Regions from separate parts of the Homo sapiens genome. Here all the other regions are linked to region 1. Evidence: promoter capture Hi-C in human tissues and cell types (Jung and others, 2019). All regions are on one chromosome and are shown on one strand. The core of a region is centred on a gene start or on the middle of the fragment in contact, and the rest is flanking DNA. Distances in the headings are between cores, read along the strand shown. Region 1 holds the start of DONSON (DNA replication fork stabilization factor DONSON). Region 2 overlaps MRPS6 (mitochondrial ribosomal protein S6). Region 3 holds the start of LOC105372787 (a long non-coding RNA gene). Region 4 has its middle 43 kb from the start of LINC00649. Region 5 overlaps IFNAR2-IL10RB (IFNAR2-IL10RB readthrough). Region 6 overlaps ITSN1 (intersectin 1).

Region 1 (2,686 bases), core at 53-2,552:
ACCACCCTGTTTGTTCTACTTATCTTTAACTAGACCTGACATTTCTAATTTCATTCCTTCTCAGACCTCAGTTGGATGAACCCATTCCACTGTATGAGGCAAAAGTTTCCATGGAAGCTGTTCAGAAAAATCAAGGAAGAAAAAAGCAAGTTGTTCAATTTTAATTTTCTTCTTTCTCAGACCTCAGTCGGATGAACATATTCCAGTATTTGAAGCCAGAATTTTCTTTGGAAATTGTTGAGAAAAACCAAGGAAGATAAAACAAGTTGCATTTTTAAGCACGTTTCTCTGCTAAGACAAGATGCTCAGTTGACACATTTGAAAAGTGTTTGAAAAATTCTTGTGCAAATGATCAAGATAATTCTATAATTAACATCTTAAGGGAATTTTTCTAAAAACCTTTTCATTGTTTCTATATATTTTGCCCCTGCTATAAAATTCCTTCCATGAAGAAAACTGCTGCTTTCAGCAAAAGTCACACTACTCTTGATAAAAGCTGTTGCAGGCCTTTGCTAAGCTATCAAAGTAACGTATTAATTTTGTATCAACTCCGTTCTCAACACCTTCCTTAAGTCTTTGCTGTCATAATTTAAGCATTTGAGTATATTTTGAAGTCTTAAAAGACTTAGCCCATAGGCACTTAAATTTTGTGTTTTCAACTATTCATTCACTCCGGCTTTCCCCAGGATCAAAGAAGATCCCATTAACTTGCCAGTGGCAGCTGCCTGGAAGTCTGAGATGACCAGGCACTGGGAACGGGGAAGGGAGGGATGTCGGTAGGCTGCGCTGGCATAGGAAGCGTGCTGACGTCTTATCTGAGTTCTCTGGGGGTTGAGGAAGGTGGCCTAGTCCCCTCTCCTCGCCTCTTGAGAGCAGTAGCCACTGCCCTCTCTTAAGTTTATGGAAGCAGCAGCCCATCGCCGCAGCTCAAGTTTGTTTCCTTTTCATCCAGGCGCCAAACCCCGGGCTGATCACATCCCTGCTGCGGGCTTAAATAGAGTTAAGCTATTTCGGTGCCCCACAGGGTAGTGCACATCAGCGCCCTGGATCGCATACTTTCCAGAAGCGTCGCTGAACCTGGCGACTGGACTCTGGCCGAGGACCTGGCAGAAGCGCCAGGGCAGGGTCACCGCTGGGACAGTGGGCGTTGACGGCCACCCGGGATCGCCGCTGCGGGCTGCGTCTCGCGGGCTGCCCACTGCGCATGCTCCGCTCGGAACCGGCGGGGGCGGAGGCGGGGCCGCGTCGGGGGCGGGAGCTCGGCGAGGCGCCACGTCAGGGGCGGGCCCGGCGCGCGCGGGAAGTCTCTGTAGGGCGGCCGGCTACCCTCAGCCGCCGCGCGTCATGGCCCTTTCGGTGCCCGGCTACTCACCGGGCTTCCGAAAGCCGCCCGAGGTAGTGCGGCTCCGACGGAAAAGGGCCCGGAGCCGTGGAGCTGCCGCCTCCCCGCCCCGTGAGCTGACGGAGCCGGCGGCCCGCCGAGCCGCCCTGGTGGCGGGGCTGCCTCTTCGCCCTTTCCCTGCTGCGGGGGGCAGAGGCGGTGGCAGCGGCGGCGGCCCGGCCGCTGCTCGGAGGAACCCCTTCGCCCGCCTGGACAACCGACCGCGGGTCGCCGCGGAGCCCCCCGACGGGCCGGCCCGCGAGCAGCCGGAGGCCCCGGTCCCGGTGAGTGTCTTGTAGCCTGGCCGCCAAGGGGCTCTTGTCTTTCGTGGGTTGAGCCAGCTGTGAATGGGGGATGGAAAGTCCTCGCGTTCGAGGCAAGGAAATGGGCGCGAAGACTTCGGCCGCCCGTGGCCTTAGGGTACCCCGCCCTGGGAGCCGCGATTCTGGCAAGGCCGGGTTTGTGGGAAGAGCGCTCCCCTGGCTACCCCGCTGCGGGCTGTGCTCACGGGACGCGTTCCCGAGGAAAGTGAGGGGGCCCCAGAGGGCAGCGAGGAGCCCCTTGGAGAGGACTTAGAGGTGACTTGGAAAAGAGCTCGAAAAACCCTGAGAGCCCCCATCTTGCAAGGACGCTGTTCGATGGGGCAGGTGACAAGCCCTGCTTCCCCCGTGATTTAGGGCCTCCCTTCTCTCACGCACTCCAAATTATTCTGGAGATGGGGGAATGTCGAGGATTCGTGGGGTCAGAATTCACTAGCATCTGTCTTACCCAAAGCCTTTTGGATCTTTCGGTTTGAAACGCCGGTCCCTGTTCCCCTCAATTTTGATACTAAAGTTCAGACACAAAACTGAAGTGTTGAAACTCATAGATTGGATGGGGTGCCTCTGAATTTAGGTGTACTTGCGTTTATTGAGAAACATGTATGCCAGGTGAGGCTCTGTACATATTTAACGCAAACTTCAGCATCCTTTAAATTTTAAAGGAGAATATATTTAACCTCAGTTTTTAGATTCTAATCAAGAAAATGATTTGCTATGGGAAGAGAAGTTTCCTGAAAGAACAACTGTTACTGAATTACCTCAGGTAATACTTTTTAAATATCATTAGAATGTGTATTTGTATAAACTTTTTTTTCATAGGATTTGAGCCTATTTTTAAAAATACATTTATACTTCTCAGAAGCATTTTGCTTGGAAAGTAGTTTTACAGAGAGGCTTGATCATCTCAACCAGGGATGAAAATACCGCATCAGCCAAGGTAAAGGAGTTGGTTTGATACAGTAATGATGACTGTAAAGATAGCCAG
Region 2 (2,686 bases), core at 73-2,572, 510 kb before region 1:
TCCCAATATTGCTCACAAACAGAGAGGCACCAATTGCTACCCAGGTCATAGAGCGCCCCGCCAGGAAGTATCCACTCACGGTGCTTCTATTAGATTTCCACATGGCAAAAAAACCAATGCACATGACCAGGATAAAATACAGGGCCACTATGGCAATGTCTGCTGTGTCCAGTACAGCTCTCATTCTGGTAACTTGTGAATAATAGCGCTCCAATGACAGAAGTGTCCAACTTTTTATTTATTTTTAGTAACCCCAGCCAAGTCTGTAAACCATACGTGAACTGGACTACACAGAGCAACACAGCAGGGTCAAAGTCTTTGTCCTTTGGTTTGCTGTCTTGATGGTGGTGGTTGTGATAAACTTTGAAGAAGACAGTTTAAATTTTCCGCTTCTTAATTGGGATTGAGAACTTAGCTCGTACTCTTAATCCACTCTCCACAAGACCATCAGCATTTACTCAGGTGCTGGAGGAGAAATTCTGAGTTGCAGCTAAGTCTAGTGAAGCCTACTGTACCAACCCTGCAAGGCAGCAGAGACAAAAGACAAAGATTGAAGTAGAGGAGGTCTCGCCACGTGATGAGGAAACTTTCAGTCTAGCAAACCCGGCGCAACGAGACATTCTTTATTGGAAGAAAAAAAATTTTTTTAATACACTTCAGTTCCACAGGAAAGAGCAATCTATATGATCACAGCTGATACTTTTGTCAGTGAGAATATTATCATTTTGAGCTGAGGACAGAAATTCATCTACCTCATAACTAAGTGGCCTAACTTCAGCAGCTAACTGCCTACCACAGCATTGCCCTTTCTTGTCTTACTGTGGTATGCTCAGATTAGGACAGGCACTAAGATCTTAAAGCACCCTAAAGGGGAGAAAACACTAATTATATTCGTAATAAGGGCACAAAAATGAAATCTTAAAATACTATGAATCCTAAGAGAGTTTGGGGGTAACTTTATGGCCAGTTAGGGTCCTGGATGGAACAGGCAGGTGGTGTTTACTAGATGTTATCATCTACCCTCAGAAAATTTAAATACAGAAAACCAAGTACTGCCTAGTCTCTGGAAATGTATTGTTATAAAGCTTCTTAAACTCCAGTAAATGGATATAGTTGTCATACAGTAACCTAGATCTTGTGAGACGCCCCCTGCCCTAATGGGAAACACGACATTCCACACAAAACTAAAAATATCCAACTTACAAAACAACTCAAAAATTGTATTATTTCTGCCAGTTAGAAGATGCTGCAAGAAGATAAAAAGCAAACTTTAAAAGAAGCAATTTCCTTCTCTTCCTTTTCATCAGGCAGTATTTCCAAAACAACCTCTGAGAGGATAACGGCACTGACTAAAGGCGTGATTTTATGTTTTCCTTTTAATGCTTTTTGTTGAAGGGTATAAGAAGCAGAGAAAAGAGGGAGGAGGAGAAAAGTTTTCAGAAGACTAAAAAATGATTTATTATTATGTCCGCCAAACCTCAACAAAACAGACATTTGTGGACCATTAGATAAATCTTCAGTAGGACCATCAGGAATTTTTCAGTTCTGGATTAAGATAATCACTCTGCAAAACAGACATTTAAATATACCTAAAATTAAATGTATTAAAATTTGACGGCTTCTCTCCTGAAAAAGAGACAAATACTAAATTTTCAGTTAATTGTAATTGCAGCTGACAGATCAATACGAACAACAATTTTATTCAACCTAATGCCTTCCACACATTAACTTCTAAATGATTTCTCCTTTTCCAATAAGGCAACCTCAGAGAAGAATGTTTTTCCATGCTTTTTCTGATGATTCTAGGCATTTTCCTTTTAAGTCCTATAAATTATACTAAAGCTACCTCTTCTCAAAACCGTTCAAAACAGACCACAGTATTAGAAACTTTACAACACACTTCTCACTGACAAAAGGAGCTAAACATAATGCCTAGAGACTACTGCCCTACAAAATTAGGTTCTTAGGTCTAATGCAGAAAAAACTGCCTGGATAGAAATGTCTCAATCCCATCTGCGTGCCTTTTTAAAGCATTAAGCAATACAATAATTATGCTATGAAAAGTGATTTAAATCCTTTCTAAGTGTCAACGGCTGGCATAAATAAGATTGATTGCCAGAGAAAAGCAAAAAAAAAAAAAAAAATCTTAAAAGTTGAGGTTTGTATCACTTCATACCTGCCAAATCCTGAAGATGATCATATTTCTATGACCACCTTCCCCACCCCCAAAAGCTTCCAAGTTTTTAAACAAATGCTTTGACATTATGTAGGACGAATCATCTAAATTTTTAATAAAATCTAATCAGATGACTAGTAAACATTATTTAAAAAGGTATCGTTAAATGTTTCTGCATAAGGGAAGCTTGTCAATTACAATGAAAACTGCTGTGTCAATTACAATGAAAACTGCTGTTCGCAGTTATGAAACCCTGCCTCCAGGGCTCTCTGCTACCCAACAGCCATCCAAGTCATCCTCAGGCCACTTGTTTCAATTTTCAGAAGGCTACCTGGCTAATCAGGTATCACTCTTCCCAATGGCAGTAGCAACCACGTGCTTTCCAAAGAAGGGAGAGAAAAACACAGTGGGTATTTCTGGTTTCATCTGGCCGTTGGGGGGGAAATAGGGTGGGTTATGTGTCATAGTAGCTGCTGCAGCTTATTTGTTCAGAGAACAAAGTGCTGAAAA
Region 3 (2,686 bases), core at 61-2,560, 390 kb after region 1:
CACAGATTGCAGGCTGATAATGACAGTAACTCTATGGCAGCTATTTGTAACCCCTACCCTAGTTCATAGAAAGAGAAGCATATTAGACAGTGGGCATGGCAAGTACCTCTCCGCAGGTGTGTACGGAATCAGAATTCAACTTTTAGAAGATTTCTGCTCTGAAAACAAATTATTTTTTAAAGTAAGCTTTTACTTATTTTGGGGGGTATGGTGAGTACTTGGGAACGTGAGAGAGTGTTTCCTACTTTTCTCATGGTGAGAGTTGACAAGATGTGAGGTTTGGAGCCTGTGTTGTAGAATTCAAGGTCATCAAAAAAGGCAGGTCTTGTGGCTCTGCTTGAGGCATGAGTTAAAACTTTTCTTATCATCCTGATCAAATACAGTTGTAGGAGTTGTCGCAGGGAGATTAGCACCCTTTCTCCAGTTCATCTTGGACAGGTGGTTTTTATTATTCTTGTATTTGGTTTTTATCCTCTTTCTTTCAGAGCTAAGGGAGACTCATCAGAATGGATGGTTTCTGAAATAGGAATCTATTCAAGATTTAGGAATATAGAATTTTTATTTTTTAAAACACATTACATTTCATTACACTGTCCAATGATATAACAGAACCACAGACTTTTCTGGTTGTGTCCTGCTCTTTATTTTTACCTGGATCCAAGCTTTCTTCAATGATTCTCTCTCTCTCTCTTTTTCTTTTTCTTTCTTTTTTTTTTTTTCTTTTTTGAGTTGGAGTCTTGCTCTGTCACCCAGGCTGGAGTACAGTGGTGTGATCTTGGCTCACTGCAACCTCCGCCTCCTGGGTTCAAGTGATTCTCGTGCCTCAGCCTCCTGAGTAGCTAGGATTACAGGTGTATGCTACAATGCCTGATAAACTTTTGTATTTTTTGGTAGAGACTGGATTTCACCATGTTGCCCAGGCTGGTCTCAAACTTCTGGCTTCAAACTATCTGCCTGCCTCAGCCTCCCAAAGTGCTGGGATTACAGGCGTGAGCACCGTGCCCTGCCTCTCTTCAAGGACTCTCTTTGCTACATCGGCATCACCTGGGAACGTGGTAGGGCTACAGAATCTTGGGCCCCACCTTGGACCTACCTAATCGTCATCTTATTCATTGGTGTTCCCTTCGCCAGGTGAGTTTTGCACTGACTAAAACACACAGATCTATCAGGTGAGTCGAAATGGCAATACTCATTTACCTTAGTTCTGCCTTTATTTTACTTTCAGTGTTTTATCCTTGTCCATGGAGTCACTCTCATTCATGCAGTTCCACAAATATTTTTTAAGGCCCACTCTGTGGCAGACATAATACAAAGGGCTGAGAATAAAGATGAAAAAAATCATTTACTCAAAGTATGTAGTATGTCATCCAATGATAAGTTATGGAGGAAAAGGCAGGCTAAGGGGGCCGGGAGTGTGGGAAAAGGGTGCAGTGGTATACAGAGTGATCAGCGAAGCCTTCTCCCAGGAAGGGGCCTCTGAGCAGAGAAGGGGAGGACAGAAGGAAAAGTCACGTGGAGGGCTCAGGGAACTACCTCCTCTGCCCTCCAAAGCCACTAGCGAATCGCTGTGTGCGAGGGTTGCCACATTTAGCAAAAATACAAGATACCTAGTTGCATTTGAATTTCAGATCAACCTTGAATATGTGTTGGGTATAACATACTAACTTTTTTTCTTTTTCTTTTTCCTTTTTTTTTTTGTTTTGAGACAGAATCTCACTCTGTTGCCCAGGCTGGAGTGCCGTGGTGCGATCTCGGCTCACTGCATCCTCCGCCTCCCTGGTTCAAGAGATTCTCTTGCCTCAGCCTCCTGAGTAGCTGGGATTACAGGCACCTGCCACCATACCCAGCTAATTTTTGTATTTTTAGTAGAGACAGGGTTTCGCCATGTTGGCCAGGCTGGTCTTGAACTCCTGACCTCAGGTGATCCGGCCGCCTCGGCCTCCCAAAATGCTGGGATTACAGGCGTGAGCACCGTGCCTGGCCTAACTTTTAATATTAAAATACACATATATAAAATTTAGTACATATACTAGTACATAGTACATGTACTAAATTATATTGTAATGTTTTTAGTATGTCCCATACAATATTTACGACATATTTATTTATACTAAACAAATTCATTGTTTATCAGAAATTAAAATTTAACTGGGCATCCCATATCTGTGTGACCCTCTGTGTGACCGATGGCTTGTGGACCAGACCATGAGCTTGGGGAATGTCCTTCTCAGCAGGACCACCATTTCCCTTCTCAGTCAACCCTCACCTTGTTCCCTAGGCTCTGGGCAGGGTCACCTTGAAGGCGGCCATCTGTGGCCTTGTGTTAACTCCACAGGTGACACCTGGATTCTGTAGTCAGATAAGAATGTGCGCCTGTCTTCTATAGCCAGCTAAGCATTTCCTAAACTAAACACTCCTAAAAAGTCTTCTCTAGTGAACAAAACACATCTTAGAATCCTCCAGGAATATACTCCATTGTGAATGGATCACAGTGGGGAAAAAAAGTGAATTGTTCCTTTGTCCATCTAATGTTTGGGAGAAACTCATGATTTATTTTGCAGCCAAACGCACACGCAATCCAGTTTGCAGTTTTCCAAAGGCTATTTCTGATGTGGGATGTGTGGCTCCTCCCACCTCTTCCTGGTATAATCTATAGCGTAACATCTGTGTGTCTATGCTAAGAGTC
Region 4 (2,686 bases), core at 127-2,626, 390 kb before region 1:
ACCTAACATGCATTTGATGGCGGTATCAAAAGAAGTAAAAGGAGGGAAGGCCCAGAAGAAAATATTTTAATAGGCTGGGAGTGGTGGCTCATGCCTGTAATTCCAGCACTTTGGGAGGACAAGGCGGGTGGATTACCTGAGTTCAGGAGTTCAAGACCAGCCTGGCCCACATGGTGAAACCCCATCTCTACTACAATTACAAAAATTAGCTGGGTGTGGTGGCGGGCACCTGTAATCCCAGCTACTAGGGAGGCTGAGGCAGGTGAATCGCTTGAACCAGGGAGGTGGAGGTTGCAGTAAGCCAAGATCACACCGTTGCACTCCAGCCTGGGCAACAAGAGCGAAACTCCATCTCAAAAAAAAAAAAGAAAGAAAGAAAATATTTTAATATATAATGATGGAAGAAGGAAGGAGGGCGGGAGGAAGGGAAAAAAGAAGGAAAGAGGGAGGAAGGGAGGATGGGAGAAAAGGAGGAAGACAAGGGAGAAAGGGAGGAAGAGAAGGGAGGAAGGGAGGGAGGAAGGAAAGGAAGAAGGGGGATGGGGTGGGAGGAAGGGAGGGAGGGAACGGAAACTTTTAAAGCAGCCTTAGGAAGAAAGAGATCACCTTTAGAGAAGCCATAAATAAACAGTCAACTGACTTTTTTTTAAAGCCACAATGGAATCCAAAAGAAAAGCCTAGATCCTCTACCCATGGAAAATATCCCTCAAGAGGGAAGATGAAATATAGACATTTGCGACAACAAGAAAAACCTACAAATAAAACTCCAAGAGCATTCACCACTAGCAGATCATCATCTTTTAAAAGGAAAAGGAGTGTGGCACCCACAGCTGTGTGGAATGCTGGAGCTGACAATTTGCTTGGAGCTTCCAACAGGGAAATCGCTGCTTGATGACTGGTGTAGACCCATGATCTAGCTACTCTATTCAAAGAAATAGTCGGCAACTTTGCAAATTCTAACCAGGAACTGGAAACTATAGGAAGTGTCACATAGTTGATATAAAAAATGAACTCAATGATCATGGACATCAGTGTGAACCAGATGGACCCCACACATGTCTTGGCACCTCAGAGGCCCCTGGAATGTGTGTGTGTATATATGTGTGTGTGTGTGTGTGTGTGTGTGTGTGTGTGTGTGTGTGTGTGTGTGTGTATATGCCTCCAGGAAAAACATTGGACCCCTAAAATGACATGGGAAAACAGGGGCTCGAAGCAGGAGGTAAATTCAGCTAGAGGATAATAAAGTTATGCTTCTTGTGGTGCACAGACTACTGAAGGCAGGCTTTGCAGAGAGCTTGGAAACCTCCAGAGTTGCATCTTAGCCACCCTTTTGAGTTACTAGGGGAGTCAAAGAACATAAGCCCTCTTAAAGCACCTGAAAGGCAAGGAAAGCCATACAGATTTGAGGCAATGATCATACTTGAAATCACTCCCTTAAAGTGACTGAAAGAGTATCAGTTGGGCTCAAGCAATTAAACAATTGTCAAATGCATCAAGCATCTGTGATATGAATTCACAGGCACATCTGAGGAAGAGCCCAACAGTAATTCCTCATCTTGTGGCTGGACCTTGGGAGGACCCTTGGAATTCCCTGGGAGAGCTCTTATCTAGGACTGGCCCCCTCTCCTGCCAGGAGCCACCTTCAGAGACTGAGGGACTGTGAGTTCCTTCTCCCTAGCTCCTCCCTCGTAATTCCCAACATCTCTGACCACTGGCAGCTCTCCCCAGAGGCTGGAGGGCTACTGATGATTCCACGGAAGTGACTGCATGCACCGATCCTAACCCCCGATAACTCTAAGGATGCTAGGTAGGAATCTCCTTCCCAGGATCATAAAACTTGGTGGAGAGGAGGGGTTTGAAAAAGATTAATAACCTGCTAAGGACGTGACCAGACTGCCTTATTGAAAACAAGGGACTTGTGTGTGTCTTCTCTTCCCATTAACATCCCAACTGCCTGGTGAACAACCAGCTCGAGGAAAAGAAAAAGGAGATTTGCTGCTGTTGCTAGGACTAGGGCCCCAAATACATTAAGGCCCTTGATGGGGGAGTTAAGCCTGCCACCGTCCAGCGTTATGGGGTAAGCAAGCACTATCAGGTCTCTAAGTGGTAAACATAATTTTCCCACATGGGAGACACTAATCCACATCATGCTGAAAGCAAAGTTATAAAGTGCGGCTGTCCCACCCCACCCACCCCACCCCATCTCGGTCATGAGCATCCAGGTGCCTTTTCTTTTTAGAGACAGGGTGTCATTCTGTCACCCAGGCTGGAGTACAGTAGTGTGATCATAGCTCACTGCAGCCTCGAACTTCTGACTCAAGCCATCCTCCCACCTGCCTCCTGAGTAGCTGGAACCACAGGCACATCCCATCATGCTTGGCTCAGTTGCGTTTATGAAGCTTCTTCCACTCGGCTCTGAGCCTTGCTCCTGGAGTCATCCTTCGGCCAGGGCTGCTGGCACCTGAAGCCACTCTGGCCCCTGAACATCCCCCAGCCACACTAGTCCTGGCTCTCTTCTTCACGATGTCCATCAGGCAGAGACCAGCCAATGGGAGGTCAGACCCACCCTCCTCTGAACTCAGTGACATGTATGGGCTTTCATTATGTGCCTCTTCACAAATTTTATCTTTTTTCATTTTTGTGTCCCTTAGGATAGGAATTCCTAGCTCTACTTAATAGATGAGTG
Region 5 (2,686 bases), core at 109-2,608, 330 kb after region 1:
TAACAAATGATGCAAAGTTAGTGTCATAAAACAATATAAATATATTATATTAATAGTTCTGGAGATCAGAAATCCAAAATGGGTTTCACTGGGATAAAAAATATCAAGATGTTGGCAGGACTGAACTCCTTATGGAGGCTCTAGGGGAAAACCCATTTCTTTGCCTTTCCCAGCTTCTAGAGGCCACTTGCATTCCTTTGCTCATGGCCCCCTCCTTCATCCTCACTCTGCGACCTCTGCTGCTGCTGTGAGAGCTCCTTCTCTGCCTCTGAGTCTCCTGCTTCTCTTTTTGTTGAGACACAGTCTTGCTCTGTAGCTCAGGCTGGAGTACAGTGGTACCATCTTGGCTCACTGCAACCCCCACCTCCCGGGTTCAAGAGATTCTCCTGCCTCAGCCTCCCAAGTAGCTGGGACTCCAGACGCATGCCACCACGCCTGGCTAATTTTTGTATTTTTAGTAGAGATGGGGTTTTACCACGTTGGCTAGGCTGAACTCGAACTCCTGACCTCAGGTGATTCACCTGGCTCGGCCCCCCAAAGTGCTGGAATTACAGGCATGAGCCACTGCGCCTGGCCAAGATCTTCAATTTCATCACACCCACAAGCCCCTTTGGCATAGAGGTTAGCCTGTTCACATATCTGGGATTAGGATGTAGACATCTTTGGGGGCCATTATTCTGCTTACCACATCTCCCTTGGGTCTTTATTCAAATGCTACCTTCTCAGGAAGGCCATCTGTGGCCATCTGTGGTGGATGCTGTGGGTGGCCTGCCCATGTCCCCTTTTCCAGTCAGTGCACACCCACTACTGCTGCCGCACGTGTCTGCTGATATCTCTCAGAGCTGATCCTTCTCTAAGTGAAAGGTGAGGCCAGCTGGACTTCCTGGGTGGAGTGAGGACTTAGGGAACTTTCTTGTCTTACAAGAGGATTGTAAAACGCACCAATCAGGGACTTTCCTGTCTCACAAGAGGATTGTAAAATGCACAAGTCAGCATTCTGTAAAACGCACCAATCAGCACTCTAAAACGCACCAATCAGCGCTCTGTAAAATGCACCAATCAGCAGGATCCTAAAAGTAGCCAATCACGAGGAGGACTGAAAAAAGGGCACTCTGATAGGACAGAAACGAACACGGGAAGGGACAATAAGGGAATAAAAGCTGGCCACCTCCAGCCAGCAGTGGCAACCCGCTCAGGTCCCCTTCCAGGGTGTGAAAGCTTTGTCCTTTCGCTCTTCACAATAAACCATGCTACTGCTCACTCTTTGGGTCTGTGCCATCTTTAAGAGCTGTTAACGCTCACCAGGAAGGTCTGCGGCTCCATTCTTGAAGTCAGCGAGACCACGAACCCATTGGCAGGAACCAACTCCGGACACATAAGGAACTGCCCTTGCCCAAAAGGGGGCTGCCTCATCTGGAGGCCATGCCATAGATCACCACCAGTAACTGACTGGCTGCTGACTTGAGGATACAGTTCACGCTTCCGAGAACCCCTTGGGATCAGGCTCAGCTGAGAGCCACATGCCTGCTTAATTTCTCTCTCCCTGTACCTACCTGTTCCCTCTTTCCCCTTCTCCTAAGATGCCCCCACCAATAAATCACACTTGAATATGAATTCACATCCCAGGCTCTGCTTCTAGCAAATGCAAATCAAGACACTATCCTATTAAAAACAGCAACCTGCTCTCCTCAACCTGACATCCCCCTCACCTCCTTTCCCGCATAATTTTTTTCCATGGTACTTACTTAACATACTGTCTATTTTACATGTTGATCTTGTTATTCTGTCTCCTACTGCAATGTAAGCTCCACAAGGTGAGAAGTTTTTAATCTGTTTTGTTCACTGCTAAATCCTCAATATCCAGAAAAGAATCTGGCTCATAACAGGCCCCCAATAAACATTTGTCAAATGAATGAATAGAGCTTTTCCTTAGGGCCTTAATATTAATAAAAGAGACAAACCATTAGTTTTAAGGCTTGACAAGGGGAAGGTGTTTCTCCAGATGTCTGGGCTAAAATCCCCCCATATCAGTCTGCCCTAGGATTGGGTCACAGTGCTTACTGCTGAGCCTATGTTAATGCTGGTCTCAGGCTATCCTTCCAAGACCCCTCACCATCCAAACCTGTCTGGTTTCTGAGTTTGGCTGGTTGAGGGCACGTCAGATGGCAAGCAGATAGTGACAGAGGCCACGTTATCTGAACCTATTTGCTTCCTGAGTTTCAAACAAGAATTTGACATCAGGTACAGTATTTGGATAATTAAAGAGAGCGGTACTTGACCTATCTCGGGTAATAATCAAAGAATGAGGGCTGACTTGATGTGCAACATGACGCATTCACGCCAAGTAAAAATGGAATGACCTGAGAGGATGTTGTTACATGAACATCTTAGTAGGTGAAATGGAAAAGAGTCAGGGGAGAAAGTGAGTCATCACAGAATTCATCAACCTCCAAGGAGCTTGTGCCTTCTCATCAGCAACACATTCACCTTGGAACTGGGGACTGAGTTTCAATAAACCACCATCTGTCTGCCAGGTCACTAATTTCAGTTTTTATTGTCTATAAGAGTTTCGTTTGTATGTAAGATCAATGATATAATAAAATATACATATATATCCAGTCTTTGTCCCTAGTTCCTGGAGCAGAGCTTCAAAAACCTGTGGAATTTCCTGAACGTTAGGAGTGTC
Region 6 (2,686 bases), core at 117-2,616, 260 kb before region 1:
AATATTAATAGCAAGCAGCTGGGCTTGGTGGCTTATGTCTGTAATCCCAGTACTTTGGAAGGCAGAGGTGGGTGGATTGCCTGAGCCCAGGAGTTCATGACCAGCCTGGGCAACATAGTGAGAGACACCCATATCTACAAAAAATTTAAAAAATTATCCATGCATGGTGGTACATGCCTGTAATCCCAGCTACTTGGGAGGCTGAGGCAGGAGGATTACCTGAGCCCAGGAAATAGAGGCTGCAGTGAGCTATGATCGCACCACTGCACTCCAGCCTGGGCAACAGAGCGAGCACCTGTCTCAGGAAAAAAAAAAAAAAAAAAAAGGAAAGAAAAGAAAAGAAAAGAAAAAAAACGAGAAAAAAAAAAAAGAAATTAAAATAGCAAGCATTAAAAAAAGAGCCCAGGCCGGGTGCAGTGGCTCACACCTGTAATCCCAGCACTTTGGGAGGCTGAGGCAGGTGGATCACTTGAGGTCAGGAGTTCAAGACCAGCCTGGCCAACATGGTGAAACCTCATCTCTACTAAAAATACAAAAATTAGCTGGGCATGGTGACAGGCACCTGTAATCCCAGCTACTCGGGAGGCTGAGGCAGGAGAATCGCTTGAACCCAGGAGGTGGAGGTTGCAGTGAGCTGAGGTCGCACCACTGCACTCCAGCCTGGGTGACAGAGCGAGACTCTGTCTCAAAAAAAAAAGAAAAAAAAGAAAAGAAAAAAGAGCCCGTGTGCTGTGCTGATGGTGGAGACAGTAGGACCTCAGAAGGGAGCAACTCCTCGTGCTAAGGGGAGGCTTCCTCGAGGGGCCCTCCTGAGGCTGGGTCTCCATATGGCTGGGGAGGTCAAGACCATACACTGGGGGCTATGGGCACCAGCAAGAGCAAGCCTTCACCCAGGTGCCAGGTCGACGCGGAGACACTGCAAGAGATAAGGTGGAAAGGTGGGAAGGGCCAGATGACAGGGTGACGGGGATTGTGATGCCAGAACAAATGTTCAGAAACAACATGTGGAAGGACCAGGAGAGAGAGCAATAAGCAAGCCCGGGCGATGGCTTTCATCTTTAAGGGAAAGGATCTACCTTTCCCTTTTGTCTCTGGGGACATTCAGCCCAAATCCTCTGGCTCAATGGCCCCGGATCAGCAGGGTCTATGCTACTTGGGCTCCTGGAGGTCCCATCTATACTGCAGGCTTCTCCCCATGGACCAAGTCTCTCCTGCCAGGTGAGCCCATGCACCCCAGAGCTGCACTGGCTTCTCCTGGGCAAATTAATCTAACTGCACTCCCTTCAACACCCTGGGCCTCTCCTGGTAGGTGTGGGGTGGCCTGTCGTGTAGGAAAAGCAGATGAAGCCACATGGATATGACGTGAAGAAAGTTCTCTGGCCAAACACTATGTCCCTTTACCCTGCAGCTGATGTCTGAAACCCCAGCGTTCTCCAAGCCATGAAGTTGTGTACTCCTGCTGTGAAGCAGCATCCACGCTCGGCCCCGGGGTTCAGTGAGAAGGAGGCAGTCCGGGTCCTTGTCCTTTGGGAGCCTGCTGGTTGCTAGACCTGGGAGTCCCAGGCCAACTTGGATCCTTGCTGAGTTGCAGGCACTTTGCACAGGGCATCACTCCAAGCGGTTATCAGTCCTTGAGACCTCGGAGTTGCAAATCCTCAAGATGCGATTTTTAATGGGGTCTGGAGAAGCCGGTGGGCACAGAGGTGAGAGGGGAAGGAATGCCCCCAAAGGCACCAGAGACCCTCGTGGGTCCAGCAGAGCTCAGGTATCCCACCCAGCCTGTCCTGGTGACACATCTTGCCCCATGTAGCTGGGTCCTCGGGAGGCTTCCATTCAGATGTAACCCAGATGCTTAAAAGTGCCAATGTAACTCCAAATAAGCTTTGTTTTCTCCCAAGGAGGGGAATCCAGTCCACAGGGGTTGCCAGGCAGTTTAATTACTGCTGAGAAGTGGTGAAGATCAAATTCTTCTCAGGGATAAATCATCTCTTAATTTTCCATAAATATGCACATTTCAGAGAGTGAAAGGGTGTATCATTCATAGCTTCATAATGGGCACTGGAATTCCTGGCACAGCTTTACATCCTCTGTGGTAGGTATGCTTCAGCTCATTCCAGGCCCCTTCTATGTCCCACCCCTGACTTCCTGCTCTCACTGTGCCCTCTCCTGTAGTATGAGTAGCTCCTGTTAATAAGTTTTTTGGGTACAAAGGCAGACTGGCATGTTATAATGAAAGTACAAATGCATTTTTATTGGAATATGAAGGAGGAGCCTGTTGGTTTTTGTTTTATTTTTAAGTTTTGTGGGTACATTGTAGGTGTATATATTTATGGCGCACCTGAGCTATTTTGGTACAGGGATGCAATGTGTAATAATCACATCATAAGAATGGGGTATCCGTCCCCTCAAGCATTTATCCTTTGTGTTACAAACAATCCAATTACACTGTTTTAGTTATTTTTAAATGTACAATTAAATTACTATTGTAGTTGCTCTGTTGTGGTATCAAATACTAGGTCTTTTTTTTTTTTTTTTTTTGAGACAGAGTCTTGCTCTGTTGCCCAGGCTAGAGTGCAATGGTGCAATCTTGGCTCACTGCAGTTTCCACCTCCCAGGATCAAGCAATTCTCGTGCCTCAGCCTCCCGAGTAGCTGGGATTACAGGCATGCGCCACCACGCCCAGCTA

Evidence for each region. Contacts are between HindIII fragments. The study calls those that stand out against the background at their distance.
Region 2: a fragment that was not itself captured here is called in contact with the fragment with the promoter of DONSON in region 1 in 1 of the 25 tissues and cell types used here (lymphoblastoid cells).
Region 3: a fragment that was not itself captured here is called in contact with the fragment with the promoter of DONSON in region 1 in 3 of the 25 tissues and cell types used here (hippocampus, lymphoblastoid cells and stomach).
Region 4: a contact is called between a fragment that was not itself captured here and the fragment with the promoter of DONSON in region 1, in 1 of the 25 tissues and cell types used here (IMR-90 fibroblasts).
Region 5: a contact is called between a fragment that was not itself captured here and the fragment with the promoter of DONSON in region 1, in 1 of the 25 tissues and cell types used here (lymphoblastoid cells).
Region 6: a fragment that was not itself captured here is called in contact with the fragment with the promoter of DONSON in region 1 in 1 of the 25 tissues and cell types used here (mesendoderm cells).

Annotation. Positions count from the first base shown.
Region 1 is chr21:33,587,300-33,589,985 of GRCh38, reverse strand. DONSON (DNA replication fork stabilization factor DONSON) reads left to right here and starts at 1,302. Exons shown (of 10, transcript NM_017613.4): 1 at 1,302-1,665; 2 at 2,384-2,464. The coding sequence starts at 1,345. It overlaps CRYZL1 (crystallin zeta like 1), which reads left to right. Exons shown (of 13, transcript NM_145858.3): 13 at 65-645. The coding sequence ends at 164. RefSeq lists an enhancer at 1,114-1,613 and a silencer at 1,072-1,761. The HindIII fragment of the contact is 19,336 bases long and covers 1-2,686 here.
Region 2 is chr21:34,092,697-34,095,382 of GRCh38, reverse strand. All of the region lies in intron 1 of MRPS6 (mitochondrial ribosomal protein S6), which reads right to left. SLC5A3 (solute carrier family 5 member 3) reads right to left here. Exons shown (of 2, transcript NM_006933.7): 2 at 1-520. The coding sequence starts at 184. Among named protein-coding and RNA genes, the nearest start is that of SLC5A3, 20 kb to the right of the region's middle. The HindIII fragment of the contact is 6,027 bases long and covers 1-2,686 here.
Region 3 is chr21:33,193,756-33,196,441 of GRCh38, reverse strand. It overlaps LOC105372787 (a long non-coding RNA gene), which reads left to right and starts at 925. Exons shown (of 3, transcript XR_937675.3): 1 at 925-1,131. The HindIII fragment of the contact is 3,695 bases long and covers 1-2,686 here.
Region 4 is chr21:33,972,517-33,975,202 of GRCh38, reverse strand. No RefSeq gene overlaps it. Among named protein-coding and RNA genes, the nearest start is that of LINC00649, 43 kb to the right of the region's middle. The HindIII fragment of the contact is 7,091 bases long and covers 1-2,686 here.
Region 5 is chr21:33,255,913-33,258,598 of GRCh38, reverse strand. All of the region lies in intron 7 of IFNAR2-IL10RB (IFNAR2-IL10RB readthrough), which reads right to left. All of the region lies in intron 7 of IFNAR2 (interferon alpha and beta receptor subunit 2), which reads right to left. Among named protein-coding and RNA genes, the nearest start is that of IL10RB-DT, 9.0 kb to the left of the region's middle. The HindIII fragment of the contact is 5,563 bases long and covers 1-2,686 here.
Region 6 is chr21:33,849,418-33,852,103 of GRCh38, reverse strand. All of the region lies in intron 29 of ITSN1 (intersectin 1), which reads right to left. Among named protein-coding and RNA genes, the nearest start is that of ATP5PO, 65 kb to the left of the region's middle. The HindIII fragment of the contact is 3,852 bases long and covers 1-2,686 here.